Regions from separate parts of the Homo sapiens genome. Here region 1 is linked to region 2. Evidence: promoter capture Hi-C in 16 types of primary human blood cells and fetal thymus (Javierre and others, 2016). All regions are on one chromosome and are shown on one strand. Each heading gives the region's core, a stretch centred on a gene start or on the middle of the fragment in contact. The rest is flanking DNA. Distances are from core to core; before and after follow the strand shown. Region 1 overlaps DIP2A (disco interacting protein 2 homolog A). Region 2 holds the start of PRMT2 (protein arginine methyltransferase 2).

Region 1 (7,338 bases), core at 1,095-3,594, 100 kb before region 2:
CATTGTGCAGAATAGTTATTAGTTGGAAACTACCTAAATTTCCACTAATGGGGTAATGGTATATTTCGGGGTATTTTGGTTTCTACATTAAAATGTTAATTACTTGTTTCTTAAATTTTACATTGCTTAGTATTTTTATTTTGTTTTAGGTAAACTTTGGAGTCGGAGTTTAAAACTAGCTTATACTCTACTTAATAAACTGACAAGTAAGAATGAACCTCTACTTAAACCTGGAGACAGAGTAAGTAACTAGAATGTCACTTTGTTGGAAGGAGCAAAAGCAGGGACTTAAATAATCTGTTTCATTGAAATTAGTGTTCTATCATTTAGTTAGAATTACAGCATTAATACAAGGGATTTAAAATCAGCAGTGAGGACTGGGTGCGGTGGCTCATGCCTGTAATCCTAGCACTTTGGGAGGCTGTGGTGAGCGGATTGCCTGAGCTCAGGAGTTTGAGACCAGCCTGGGCAACATGGCAAAACCCTGTCTCTACTAAAAATACAAAAAATTAGCTGGGCGTGGTGGTGCGTGCCTGTAATGCCAGCTACCCGGGAGGCTGAGGCATGAGAATCTCTTGAACCCAGGAGGTGGAGGTTGTAGTGAGCCAAGATCTCGCCACTGCACTCCAGCCTGGCGACAGAGTGAGACTCCGTCTCAAAGAGAAAAAAAAAAAAAAGCAGTGAAAAATATTAAATATGGCAAAGTTTGTGATGTAGAGTAAAGCAGCATTCTTTTTCTGCACTCGTTGTTTCATTGTTTGTCCACTGTTTCTTCATCTTCTTTTCTGTTTGACTTCATATATGTTGATATTAAAAATGTTAGATTCCAGAGCTTAGATTTTATGAATTAAAATCTGAAGGTCTGAAACCCTGCTGTGAAATTCTGTATTTTTATCTCCTTCCCTATTCTATGTGTCCAGGTAACCTCCTTGTACCTATCTGCCAAAATAGGATGCTGGAGACTTATTCTCTTGTGCTACACTGCCCTATATGGTTGGCAGTAGCCATTTGGGGCTATTTAAATTAACCAAAATTAAATAAAATAAAAAATTTAGTTTCTTGGTTGCACAAGCCACATTTCAAGGGCTCAGTAGGAGTGTGGCTAGTAGCTACTGTATTTATAGATCAGAGGTAGAACATTTCTGTCATCATAGAAACTTCTGTTGGACAGTACTACTGTAGGCAAGCTGGACCAGACCGGAGGACCCTGGTATACTAGAAAGTCCAGGGTGGAAAATAGGAGAACATGGTGAAAATCAACATACCAGTGAAATCCCCTAGTGAGAAGGTCACCTGTGTCAGATCACCCAACAAGGAAACTGCAGGTTAACAAGCTGGCAGACAGTTCCAAGTAGCTCTTTCAGTGCCTAAGTCTTTAATATGAACTATTAGCCAAGGACTTTTAAGAAGGAAATGTCAATATGAGAGAAAATACCAAAAGACAAAGAAAAGGGAAGGGAAGAGAGGGAGTGAGAAAGAGACAAGAAAAGTAAGGAAGGGAGGAAAGAGGAAACAACAAGGAAAGCTAGATACAGAAAACAATGTTTCTAAAAAGTGAGTATTAATATTCTTGGAAATCAGAGATGAAGATGTTTCATAAGTCAAGAAAAGGATGCCGGTAGGAAAGACTAAGAGATGGAGAGCGGAGTAAAATAGGACAAAAAGACTCGATCAAGAAGACACAACACCTGACTGATAACTGGAGTCGAGAAAGAGAAAGGAGAACAGAAAGTAGAACATTTTAAATGAAAATAGTAATTCAGGACAATATCCCGGACCTGGAGAGTGTAAACATTCAAGGATGCACACCAAAACGCATGCCCATAATATTGCATAATACGAGGGGTACAGAAAAGAATCCCAGAGCTTTCAGGGGAAAAGTAGGATGTACACAAAGGATTGGCAATGACAGTGGCTTTTGGGATTTCTCATTGGTAAAACTGAAAGAGAGTGGAATGATGCTTCAGACATTCAGAGGGAATATAATTTTAACTTAAAATTCTGTTCCCAGAGATTCAACAGATTTGAGAATAGTATAGCCATTTTCAGACATGCAGGACTCAGAAACGTTTGGCTCGCAAGCACTTTCTTGTCAAGTTCTTAGAAGATGTCCCTCAGCCACATGAGTGAGTGAGTGAGTAGGGTGCAAGCAGGAGGACCACAGTGGAGGCCCCAGGACGATCACTGGCAGCAGTCCAGGGGGGGCAGCAGAGCCACCATCAGGAGAACCAAGACTCCAGGGTGGGGTGGAATCCTCAGCACCCACCATCAGGAGAACCGAGACCCTCAGCAGTGGAGTCCTCAGCAGCAGGGGACACTCACGGCTCTCCTGAGTGGGTGGTTATTTGGAAAATGACCCACCAGTAGGTGGGTATTTGACCCAGCTGAGGGAGTATTTTAAAACAAATTAGCTAGAGAATACACAGAAAGCAACGCAAGTAGAAATGGAGGTAGCTGTTATCAGAAAAGAAAGGAAATGTGTACTTGGCTATAAAAATGTAAACAGTTTAAGAATAATACTTTATGATATGTTGTGCTCATAGATGAGATTTTATGCAACGCTTTAGAATGAATTCAAGAATCACTAATTTTCTTGAAAAACATTCTTACAAGGATAAAGACTTTCAGATTCTTGACTTGCAAGAGAATCTCTTTGGTTAGGTGAATCATAATAAAATGGACAAGGTCACAGTGATTGAGTTGAAGAAATTGGTGGCAAATTCTGCCTCCTATAATATTACACTTTATAAAAGTGAGCACAGCTCTTCCTAACAAATTCTGTAAAAATATACTTTCCATACCAAACATCTAGTCTGAAGGTTATAGGTTACATTCTGGGCAACCACTGTTAAAACCAAATTTTGAAGGAGAACCTTGCCCTTTTCAACAAACAAACTTGTTAGAAACTAAATTTCCAGACCTCAAGTACAGAATATAGATACAGCTTAAATTTTGTCTTACAAAGTCAGCACTTATTGGTTATTCATTGTTGCGTGTTCTCAAAGGCCCTGAGTCAACTGTCTCTACTCAGTTAAATACTATTTGGACTTGTCCCTTATGGTTTCAAGCACAATTATTACAATATTTGGGGCTTACAAAAATTTTATTTATAACTAGCTTTTAATTTAACTAGATATTGTAAAAATTGGAAATTTGGAATATTCATTTCTTTGTCCTGTTGTAGGTGGCGCTCGTGTTTCCGAATAGTGACCCTGTGATGTTCATGGTTGCATTTTATGGGTGTCTCCTGGCAGAGCTGGTTCCTGTCCCCATAGAAGTGCCATTAACAAGAAAGGTAGCAAACCCATGGCTCAGGTCCCGTGTGGTTCGCTTCTGAACTTGATACCAGCAGTATCTTACTTCCTTTTCACTCATGTGGGCAGGCAGCAAGCAGCTGTTTTGACAGAGGAGAGAAAGCTAGTAGTCAACAGGCTGGCCAGGACTCAAGAGAAATCAGATGCCGTTTTGCCTGCCTCTCTTCTTGTTAATGAGAGGGGCACTGAGAACCGTTTTGCTGGTGATGCTCCCACACCACACTCTTATTAGGTGGAGCTGTTCTATCATCTACATGAATTTCCCAACAGAAATGATAGCCATTTTTTCCTCTAATGAATAGAATTATGATTCAATAAGATTTTGTTCAACTTTTCCTCAAAACCATATGTTTATAGAAAATAATTATTATTTCTTAGGGATAAATATATCATTACAGTGATATAGCTCACTTCTCAGTGGCAGTTTTGAATAAACGAGATGGAAATTATCTTGCATTTCTGTTCACTTATATGACCGTAGGCAGTTTCTGTTGCTGATAAATTATTAATGTGGGGTCTTGCTGATCTAGGTATCTGTAACATTTTTGATATAACTATCAATAATATGATTACTGAAAAAAAATAGACAAGGCATGAATTTGAGAAAATCAGTTTTCTGTCATCCTGTCCCAGAATTCAGGCAGTTGTTAACAGGAGCATTATCCAGAAATATTCAAGAATCCCAAAAGTAAAATTTGCAAATCAAACTAGTGTATCTCAAAGCATAATATGTGATGGGCAGGTATTTGAATGCAGTGGTTCTTAGGAGTAAAACTAGAGATTTGTCAAATTTATATGAAGAAAATGACAGAATACTGCTGAGGGACACAGAAGACTTGGCTACAAGGAAATGTGTTTCTGTGTGGAAATAATTTAATATCGTTGGTGACCAGGCCTCTCTAGATTAATTTGTAAATTTCAAACATGATTCAATAGAAATTTCAATGCCATTAACTTTGGAGTTTATTAAAAATGCTTCTAAATGTCATTTGTAAGAATAAACTTTGAGAAATTAGCCCATTAAACTTTATATTTCAACACAAATACAAACCAAAATTATCTTTTAAATTTAAACATAGTTGTCACATTTTCATGAACTATTTCCGTGAAAAGATCATATATATCAATAATGGGACTGAATTATTCTGGAAGTTTTATGAGGGATGAAAAAAAGATCTGTTCTCTGTGCATGGCCTGGAGCACCAAGGGTCTGGGGCTGTGGCTGCTGTGAGCACCCCACCCCACACGGTCACTCTGCTTTCTGCAGGATGCAGGCAGCCAGCAGGTTGGGTTTCTGCTGGGCAGCTGTGGAGTCTTCTTGGCCCTGACCACAGACGCTTGTCAGAAAGGCCTCCCCAAGGCACAGACAGGAGAGGTGGCAGCTTTCAAAGGTGAGGCCTCCCAAGGGAAGGGGAGTCAGTGTTCTGACTGTGGTCTGTGTTAAATGCATGGTGTTCCAGAAATTAAACATGACAGAGGTGTCTGGGTCTTCAGCAAAAGTGATCCCTTGTTCGAGTCCTTGGTGAATCTCGGTTTTCATCTGGCTTCATGTCTCGACCTGTACTGTCTAATGTGGTAGCCACTGGCCGGATGTACCTTTTTAAATTATATAAAATGAAATGAGACTAAAACTTGCACTCCTTATTCGCTCAGTAGCTAGTGCTGCATGTTGGAGGCGCAGGCTTCGAGTGTGGGGAGCAGATGCCTCTGACTGCTTGCTGTTCTGTGTCCTGTCTGTGTGTCACAGGTTGGCCCCCGCTCTCCTGGCTAGTGATTGATGGGAAGCATCTAGCCAAGCCCCCAAAGGACTGGCACCCTCTGGCCCAGGACACAGGGACTGGGACTGCCTACATTGAGGTAATGACTGTTCCTAACTTAGAGAATGTAAAAACATGTCCCACAGGCTTAAGTCTTGCTTTTCATAAGAATGTAAGTTGCTATTCTTTTTTGTTAAGTTTCGGCCTAAGAGTTCTTGTTTTATCTCTGCCCTGGAAATACAGAGTGTCATATAAATCCTTGCTCAGATCCTTCCAGGTTTCTCTCTCATCTAATTCTCTCCTAACTGGCTCCCTGGGGATGCAGACAGTTATGAGGGAGCCCATGGCGCACCATTACCCTCGGGCACCTGCCCAAGAGGAGCCACAACTTCCACTGAAGCATCCCCTCAGCGGCCAGGGTTTTGCCATGTACCTGGGCTGCTGGTTAGAGGCCGATGGTTAGAGGAGAGACACTGACCACTTCTTCTTTTGAAGATTCTACCAGTTTCCATTCTGTCTGTTGTCACCTCTAGAAATACCACATCATGTTTTTTTCCTTGAAATCTTTCAGTATAAAACCAGCAAAGAAGGCAGTACGGTGGGGGTCACAGTGTCCCACGCATCCCTGCTGGCACAGTGCCGGGCTCTGACCCAGGCGTGCGGGTACTCAGAAGGTAAGGGCTCTCGGGGGTGGGGCGGTGGCCCCTCCAGCCTCACACAGATACCTGACGTACCTAATCATGTGACTGTCACTGCACCTGTCAAAACCACCCCTGGGTAGTGCCTTTGCCCATTAATCCGGGTCATGCCAGGTAGGGAGATGCACTGTCTTTAGCATGCTTACAGGGTCTCTGTGGTTGTGCTGGCCAAGAGGGCACACGGTGTCTCTTAGCAGAGTCCAGACAACCCCATCAGGGTTGTTTTCAGTAAATGCACATGGATGTTGATTTTATGGAACATGGAACCTATATCCCACTGATTGATTTATACACAGTGCTGGGTTCACAGGCCTGCCCTGGGGGGCTGGCTTACTCTGTGACATACTGAGGGTCAGGGCATTTTTCATTCAAAAAGAGGAAAACACTTTTAGTTTTCTATTACTTTATCTATGACTGTAGTTTTGACCTCAGCTGTCATGGATATAAATATATAAGTAGAATCTTTATGGTTATAGATGATCTGTTGATAAAGTATAGTCAGCACCTGATTTACTTCAAATGTCAGATACTTAACTTGAGATATCTTTAAATTAATATTATTTAATTGATAAGTACTAATTGTATATATTTATGGGGTACACTGTGACAATTTTAAAAACTGTAAAAATGGACTCAGTAGTTTTCTTACATTGTAATACTAGAATTGAACAAAACTACTGAGTGAAATTGAATGGTATGTCTAAATATCTAAAATATAGGTGTTCAGGCCAGGTGCAGTGGTTCATACCAGTAATCCCACCACTTTGGTAGGCTAAAGCAGGAGGAACACTTGAGGTCAAGAGTTTGAGAGCAGCCTGGACAACATAGTGAGACCCTGTCTCTACAAAAAAAGGGAGAAATTTTAAATAGAATTTTTAAAAAAGAAAAAAATATAGGTGTTTAAAAGCAAGGGTATAAGTTGAGGGCACAGCTAAAGCTTTTACTTGAGATTTGGAAAGTGATTTTAGGTATTTTTTAAGGGCTTTATTAAAAAAGTTAGATCTTTCAGATCAAGCCCCGTGACTTTCTTTGTCTTCAGCTCAGAGCTGATCTTACATATGTCACCTACAATTTGGGTTCTTTAGCCAGGCGTGATGATGTGTGCCTATAGTCCCAGCTACTCGGGAAGCTGAGGTAAGAGGACCGCCTGAGCCCAGGAGTTTTGGGCTGTAGTGGGCTGTGCTAACCAGGTATCTGCACGAAGTTTGGCAGCAACATGGTGACCTTCTAGGAGTGGGGAACCACCAGCTTGCTAAGGAGGGGTGAACCGACCCAAGTAGGAAAGGGAGCAGGTCAAAACTCCCATGCCAATGAGTAATGGGATTGTGCCTATGAATATTCACTGCACTGCAGCCTGGCAACGTAATAAGACCTCGTCTCTAAATAATAATGATAATAATTTGTGTTCTTAACCAACAGAGAAAGGGTGTTTATAGTACTGTTATTCATGGTGCAACAGCATTTCCTGGCACACAAATCAAACCTCTCCTGTTTGCCTTTGGAGTGCTGTGGCCTTTGGCGAGAAGCCAGGTCTGCCCACAGCCCCAGGCTCTGTCCTTTCTGCCTGTG
Region 2 (7,543 bases), core at 4,728-7,227:
AACTAAATGTTTCTTTATAGTAAAGTATGTTTCTTATAACTACCATTTAGTCAAATCTCTAAAAGAGATACTTAAAAATATTGGCATTGGCCGGGCACGGTGGCTCACACCTGTAATCCCAGCACTTTGGGAGGCTGAGGTGGGTGGATCACTTGAGGTCAGGAGTTCGAGATCAGGCAGACCAACATGGTGAAACCTCATCTCTACTAAATATACAGAAAAAAAAATTAGCTGGGAAGGGTGGCACACGGCTTTAATTCCAGCTACTCGGGAGGCTGAGGCATGAGAATCGTTTAAACCCAGGAAGCAGAGGTTGCAGTGATCTGAGATTGTGCTACTGTACTTTAGCCTGGGTGACAGGGCTAGACTCTGTCTCAAAAAAAAAAAAAAAAGGCATGTTTTCTATCTTTACATTTAATGTTGTTACAAATATAGTTGGGTTTAATTCTGCCACCTTGCTGTTTATTTTTATTTTATTTTTTATTATACTTTAAGTTCTGGGATACATGCCTAGAACGTGAAGGTTTGTTACATAGGTACACACGTGCCATGGTGGTTTGCTGCACTGCTGTTTATTTTTCATTTGTCTTGTCTGTTTTTTATTTCTGTAGTACTCTCTTACTGTTTTCTTTTCCATTTTTAAAATTTATTATTTTTCTTTTATCTTCTATTTTGCTTGTTGTCATACATCATTGTATTTTTTGAGATCTCATTATGCACTCTTGACCTGCCTGAAGTTATTAGGATACTTTTGCTTTGTCCTAACAAAGATCCAGCACGTTACAATTGTTTATTTATCCCCCTTGCTCTGTGTGCGGCTGTTGGCATATATTCCACCTCTACACATTATAAACCTCACAAGTCACAATTATTGTTGATTTAAGGACAAATGTTAAAAATACATTTATCCATTTATTTACACTTTCTAGTACTCTTCTGTCCTTCCTGCAGTTATGAGATTATCTTATTTTAGCCTGAAGTTCTTCTTTTAGCATTTTAGTGCATGTTTGCTTCAGTCAGATTCTGTTTATCTGAAAATGAATTTATTTTGACTTCCTTTGTAATGGCTATTCTTCTTAGGCTTAGAATTATACATCAGCAGATTTTTCTCTTTTTTTTTTATCATTATACTGTAAGTTCTGGGATACATGTGCAGAATGTGCAGGTTTGTTACATATACACGTGCCATGGTGGTTTGCTGCACCCATCAACCCATCATCTACATTAGGTATTTCTCCTAGTACTATCCCTCCCCTAGCCCCCCACCCGCTGACAGGTCCTGGTGTGAGATGTTCCCCTCCCTGTGTCCACATGTTCTAATTGTTCAGCTCCCACTTATGAGTGAGAACATGTGGTGTTTGGTTTTCTGTTCTTGTGTTAGTTGCTGAGAATGATGGTTTCCAGTTTCATCCATGTCCCTGCAAAGGACATGAACTCATCCTTTTTATGGCTGCATAGTATTCCATGGTGTATATGTGCCACATTTTCTTTATCCAGTCCATCACTGATGGGCATTTGTGTTGGTTCCAAGTCTTTGCTATTGTGAACAGTGCTGCAATAAACATACGTGTGTGCATGTGTCTTCATAGTAGAATGATTTATATTCCTTTGGGCATATACCCAGTGATGGGATTGCTGGGTCAAATGGTATTTCTGGTTCTAGATCATTGAGGAATCGCCACACTGTCTTCCACAATGGTTGAACTAATTTACACTCCCACTAACAGCGTAAAAGCGTTCCTATTTCTCCACATCCTCTCCAGCATCTGTTGTTTCCTGACTTTCTAATGATCACCTTTCTAACTGGTGTGAGATGATATCTCATTGTGGTTTTGATTTGCATTTCTGTAATGACCAGTGATGAAGAGTTTTTTTTCACGTTTATTGGCCGCATTAATGTCTTCTTTTGAGAAGGGTTCATTTCTCTTCATTATTTTTTCTCTAATCTTATCTTCACACTTTATTTCATTAAGTTGATCTTCAGTCTCTGATATCCTTTCTTTTACCTGATTGATTTGGCTATTGATATTTGTGTATGCTTCATGAAGTTCTCGTGCTGTGTTTTTCAGCTCCATCAGGCCATTTATGTTCTTCCATTTGGGGCTGGGTTTATAGTTTTGTAACCCCTATGCCAAATGTTGACACCTTATAGTAATTGGCAGGGATAAGTAGGAAATTGCTTGATAAATAAATGCAAACAAAAATGTATGCTGGCAATTCTTAAGACATTTCTAAATTACTTTGCCACTATTTTTAAAGCTAACTTATTTATTAAAGATTTTAAGTAAACTTAACATTTGACTAGTCTTTCCCTTTTTCTAATAAAGTATTTTATTTGAGCACTTTTATTTTTCTTTAATTAATAAATAAATAATTTATTTGAGCACTTTTATTTTTCTTTAAGCCAATTAATTATAGCTCTTCTATATTTTTTAATAGAGAAACATTGTGTACGCAACACATAAATACATAGATGTATTAGGTATACCGATAGAAGTACATCTTATAGATTCCTAAGACCTCTTTTTTTTTTTCTATCTTAGACTTGCAAACTCTTGATCATCTGTGTCATTGCCCTGGCAGTTGCCGGCTAAATAGCCCTAAATCTGCATATTAAAGGAAACTATTAGATGAAAAATTAGATAGCAAAATTTACATTTTAAGGTACAGAGAGGAAAAAGTCTGGTGGTGCTAAAGAGAGATTAAAAATGGATGTGAAATCAAACATAAAATTATGAAAATCTATCATAGGATTGTATAAGGAGACCAGTTTTATTTAGACAGAGACTCCCTATATTTTAACTGGATCTCTGAGCTCTGGGCAGACCCTACACTGAATCCTGGGTCTCCAAAAAGCGAAAATTATTATGAGGTTAGACTACATCATGCTTTTACAGTGCACTTAAAAAACTTTTTTCAACAAAGACATTTCTACATGTCTAAACTATACTATTCCTTAAGAACTCCAGAGTAGCCTCTGTTGCAGTAACTATTTTAGTAAAAAAATTAGGTAACACAATACAAAAGCAAGCAGTTTAAGAGCTGAGATGAAAAAAAAAAAAAGCTGAGATGAACTTGTCTGTTTACACATTTGGGGTTCCATAAGGAAACAGAGGTTTCTCCTCCAAGGGGAATCTGGCACCTTCTCCGTTTTCTGTAAGGAACCCTGGGTATTACAAACTATATTAGGTTTCCCATGAAGCAGAGGGTGCAAGAGAAAGAAGACACGACAAAAGTAAATGAAGAAAACAGAAGCCAGTCAACTAAGAAGAAAAAAACTTTTGCTCAAAAAGACAAGGTCCTAGGAGAGAAAAAAACAAAAAAAACAAAACTGGAAGCCTTTTAAATACAAACACACACACACAGGCACACAACACACATATGTTGGATGTTAGCTTTTAATTAAGCTTTTAACCATTGAGCTCCTTAAAAATAAACTTTTTCAATCTCATTACTGGCTGGGCATGGTGGCTCATGCCTGTAATCCCAACACTTTGGGAGGCCGAGGTAGGCGGATCACTTGAGGCCAGTTTGAGACCAGCCTGGCCAACATGGTGAAACCCCATCTCTACCAAAAAAATACAAAAATGAGCTGGGTGTGGTGGTGCAGGCCTATAATGCCAGCTACTCAGGAGGCTAAGGCATGGGAATCACTTGAACCTGGGAGGTGGAGGTTGCAGTGAGCTGAGATTGTGCCACTGCACCCCAGCCTGGAACACAGAGCCAGACTCTGTCTAAATAAATAAATAAATCTCATTATCATATTTCAGCTAGGACTAATTGCTGCTATTTCAGAAGTACCAAGTATCAAACCAGAAAGGGCTTAATTTAGGAACTAAACCCAGGCTGTGGTGGTGGAAAAAAAGAAGGCAGAACCCTTAGGTATGGAACTGCAGTGTGGGGTGACAGACATTACTCTTTTTGGTTGGTCTGGCTAGCAAAAATGTGGCCTTGTTATGTAAGAAAAGCCCTTTAAGTAGTCAAAATAAATTTTTTTTTTCTTTTTCCTTTTGCTAGCTGTTTTTCTCCCCCCACCACATCACCTTTTGTGTGTGTGTGTGTGGTGGGGAGGGGTTGAAACTTAGCCACTTCAGAGGCCTCACTTCTCATAATTTGGAACTTTCCTTTGGTTTCGATCAAGTCAGATAGAGTTCGTCAAACTCAATGCGAAAAAGACAAAAGAACAAAAAACAGAAACAACAACAAAAAAACCAGTTAAGCGAAACGAAGGATTGGGCAATTTATAAGGTTACTGAGCACACTAATGGTAAGGAGAAATTAAGACCAGCTGGTTGTTAATCTTAATAGCCAAGACAAACCCCAATTCAGTTACTTCCTAGGGATGGGTCTGAGGCTGAAGATTGCTCTCTACCACCCTAGAAGCAGAGGAAGAAAACCCCTCATCTTTCCTGTGGGAAGCGAGCTCAAACTCCATAAACGAGTTACCTGCCTTCCATTGTCATGGAAGCAGGAAAAAACTACTACTTCCTTATGTTGGAAGAGAGTAAAGCACACCCCGCCCCCCAACCCCCGCCCAACACACAAAAGGAGTTGTACAGCAAAATAAACTAGATCTTGACTAAATCTGGGTAGATCAGGGATTCTCTGGAGGGGGTGCTTCCAGGCCTCAGCAAATTGTCCTATTGGTTTGAGCCATAAAGATAGCTCAAGCTGGTACTAAGGACTGACAGATTTGTCAAAGGTCAGTGGCACCTCTACTCAGAATCCCTTTGTGGTTACCAAAATGTGAACCTTGAATATCTGAGTCAGATCTCAGTCAACTTAGGAAGTTTATTTTGCTGAATTTAAGGATGCACGCCCATGACACGGCCGTCGGAGGCCCTGATGACATGTGCCCAAGGTGGTCAGAGCACAGTTTGGTTTTATACGTTTTAGGGAGACATGAGACATCAATCAATATATGTAAGATGAACATTGGTTTGGTCCGGAAGGGCGGGACAACTCAAAGCAAAGGCAGGAGGGAGCTTCCAGGTCATAGGTAAATATGAGACAAATCATTGCATTCCCTTGAGTTTCTGGTTAGCCTCTCCAGAGGTGGCAATCAGATACGCATTTATCTCAGTGAGCTGAGAGATGACTTTGAACAGAATGGGAGGCAGGTTTGCCCTAAGCAGTTCCCAACTTGACTTTTCCTTTTAAGCTTAATGATTTTGCGGCCCCCAAATTTATTTTCCTTCCACATTTTTTTTTTTAAATCAGACTTAAGGTCTGCCTTGATGTTAATGCTGGAGGAGTGTAAAAAGGCATGTCCAACTCTTACTTCCCTTCGAGGCCAGAATAGTCTCTCAGGTTGAACTTCAGGGTCCCCTGGTAAAGGAGGGAGTCCAGTCAGACGGCTGCGGGGGAGGGGGGGCTTCGAATTTTATGTTTTACAGGCATTAGCGCCACCCATTTCTCCTTAACCCCAAACTTCCTCTCCCCACAACAGAAACGTCATCATTCTGCTTCCACTTATCCAGAAGAAAGGCAGAGGGCGCACACTGCGCAGCGCGGATGGGAAAGTTAACTGAATTATTTGCGGGAAGACAGAGGAGGTGGGGGGTCCCCCAAGCCCCAGCCATTTTGTGGCTCGTAGGGGTTGTCGCTTCCCAAGCCGTGAATGGCCCAAACCCGCCCCCCGCCCCAGGTCGGACTCCTGCCCCGCGCCCCTCTGGGTCGGACCCCAAGCCGAGCCCCCCAACCCCGCGGCTGGGCTGGGCGATTGGGGACGAGCTCCACACATGGAGAACCTGGCCTCGCCTCGCAAGACCGCGGGACGCGCAGATGTGAAGTGCGCCTGCGCGGGGCGCAGCCCCAGCTGCAGACGATCTGTGAGCGACGCGCCGGCGCAAGTCGAGGGCGGTGGCTTGGCTTCCCTGGAATGGGGGACGTCTTAGGACTGCGCCTGCGCGGGGCGCCGGGCCCTGGGCGGGGCCTTCCCGGCTGACGGCCTGCGTGCACTGCGCTTGCGCGGGTTGAGGGCGGTGGCTCAGGCTCCTGGAAAGGACCGTCCACCCCTCCGCGCTGGCGGTGTGGACGCGGAACTCAGCGGAGAAACGCGATTGAGGTAGGTGTCCTGATGGGCAGCTCAGATGGCTGGACTGCACGTAAGGAAGGACAGGCCAGGTGAGGCGTCCTCGCACTGCGTGTGCGTCGCTGGCGGACAGAGGCCTCCGCCCCCTTTTGGGACCTCCGAGCGCCTTCGCGATCTCAGCCACTTTCCCTGGCGTCCAAACGGGAGCTCGGTCCCCGTCACACCCTTCCCTGCGTGCCGCACCCCTTCCCGGCCACTCCCGCCGTCCAGCGCCTTCTACGGCCACGCCCACCCCACCACCATCTCTGTCACGCCCTTCGCGGCCACGCCCACCTGCCTGGCGGCCCCTGCCCCGAAGCTCGCGGCGCTGTCCCAGCCTGACCCTCTCGTGCCCCTGCGTCCACGCGTGGCCCTCTCGCTTCCTGCCCCCTTCTCACCCCCCTTCACTGGCCACCTGTTCCAACCCTCCATGATCCTGTTCCTCCCGAGGGCATCTTAGGAGGGCAGGGTCCTGCGCGCACTGCGGCCTCCACTCCGACCCCGTCCCAGTTTGGACCCAGGTCTTCCAATGAAAATATAATTATGCAAATCAGTAAGCATTTGTAACTACGAATATCACAAAAATAAGCTTCAAGTCTGGATTTAGAAGTGAAGCATGCATTTTAAACAAAGAATTGCTATGCAATTTTAAAAACACATTGATCCCAGAGCAGTGTGTGGATTACACTATCACTGGAAAAATACGAATTGAGAAGAAGGAAAAGACTGGAAGATGCAGACCTTGGTTCCTGTTAGTGGAAACACTGTAAGGTCCCAGGTAGGGACTTTTAATTGGAATTAAAGCTATCACACTTCTAAGAAATTAATGAATACTGATTTATTGCCTTAAGTCGACACCTGATCTAACAGAAACTAACAGGCTTCAGCAAATGAACAAGATTAACACCTTGCAGACTAGTGAAGAAAACACACTATTTGAAGTTTATGATTTTTAAATGCTTTTGTCTCTGTAAAGTATTGTAAATTTTCATTTCTACACTAATCTTCACACATACACATTTTACTTCTATTTGGTAGAGGACATCATGCACATTAGAAGTTAAGTGAACTCAATTATTAAGCAATGTAACAAGTACTTTGTGTCTCCTTCTCTTTTTAAAAGTAGAAATGGAAAAGAAAATGAAATAAATCAGCAGTTATGAGGCAGAGCCTAAGAGAACTATGGCAACATCAGGTGACTGTCCCAGAAGTGAATCGCAGGTAATTTCCGTTCCACTTCCTAAAAATCTGTGTTTAATGAATGTGAGCATTACAGAGAGCTAAGCGTCAGCTCACAGATGTGATGGAGCTTGGCTTGTGCCTTGGAAGGTGGCCACCGGCAGTAGAATGCTTAAATGTGAAGATTGTGAGGCAGAGGAAACGCAGTGCCTGTAAGGTGACATCCTGCATTGGGCACCATAACAATTCTAAGGAAATACTTAGCCCCAAAACATCAGCATCATTTAGGGT

Evidence for each region. The method cuts DNA at HindIII sites, captures the fragments that hold promoters and counts their contacts. A CHiCAGO score of 5 or more calls a contact.
Region 1: a fragment that was not itself captured here is called in contact with the fragment with the promoter of PRMT2 in region 2 in 7 of 17 cell types (naive CD4 T cells, total CD8 T cells, naive CD8 T cells and 4 more); the score reaches 15.8 in naive CD4 T cells.

What each region holds. Positions count from the first base shown.
Region 1 is chr21:46,528,943-46,536,280 of GRCh38, forward strand. DIP2A (disco interacting protein 2 homolog A) reads left to right here. Exons shown (of 38, transcript NM_015151.4): 9 at 150-241; 10 at 3,185-3,295; 11 at 4,582-4,705; 12 at 5,062-5,171; 13 at 5,643-5,745. Among named protein-coding and RNA genes, the nearest start is that of DIP2A-IT1, 70 kb to the left of the region's middle. The HindIII fragment of the contact is 8,719 bases long and covers 1-6,704 here.
Region 2 is chr21:46,629,697-46,637,239 of GRCh38, forward strand. It overlaps PRMT2 (protein arginine methyltransferase 2), which reads left to right and starts at 5,978. Exons shown (of 12, transcript NM_206962.4): 1 at 5,978-6,067; 2 at 6,743-6,851; 3 at 7,200-7,294. The coding sequence starts at 7,256. RefSeq lists an enhancer at 5,076-5,746 and silencers at 5,517-5,736, 5,847-6,396. The HindIII fragment of the contact is 1,501 bases long and covers 5,160-6,660 here.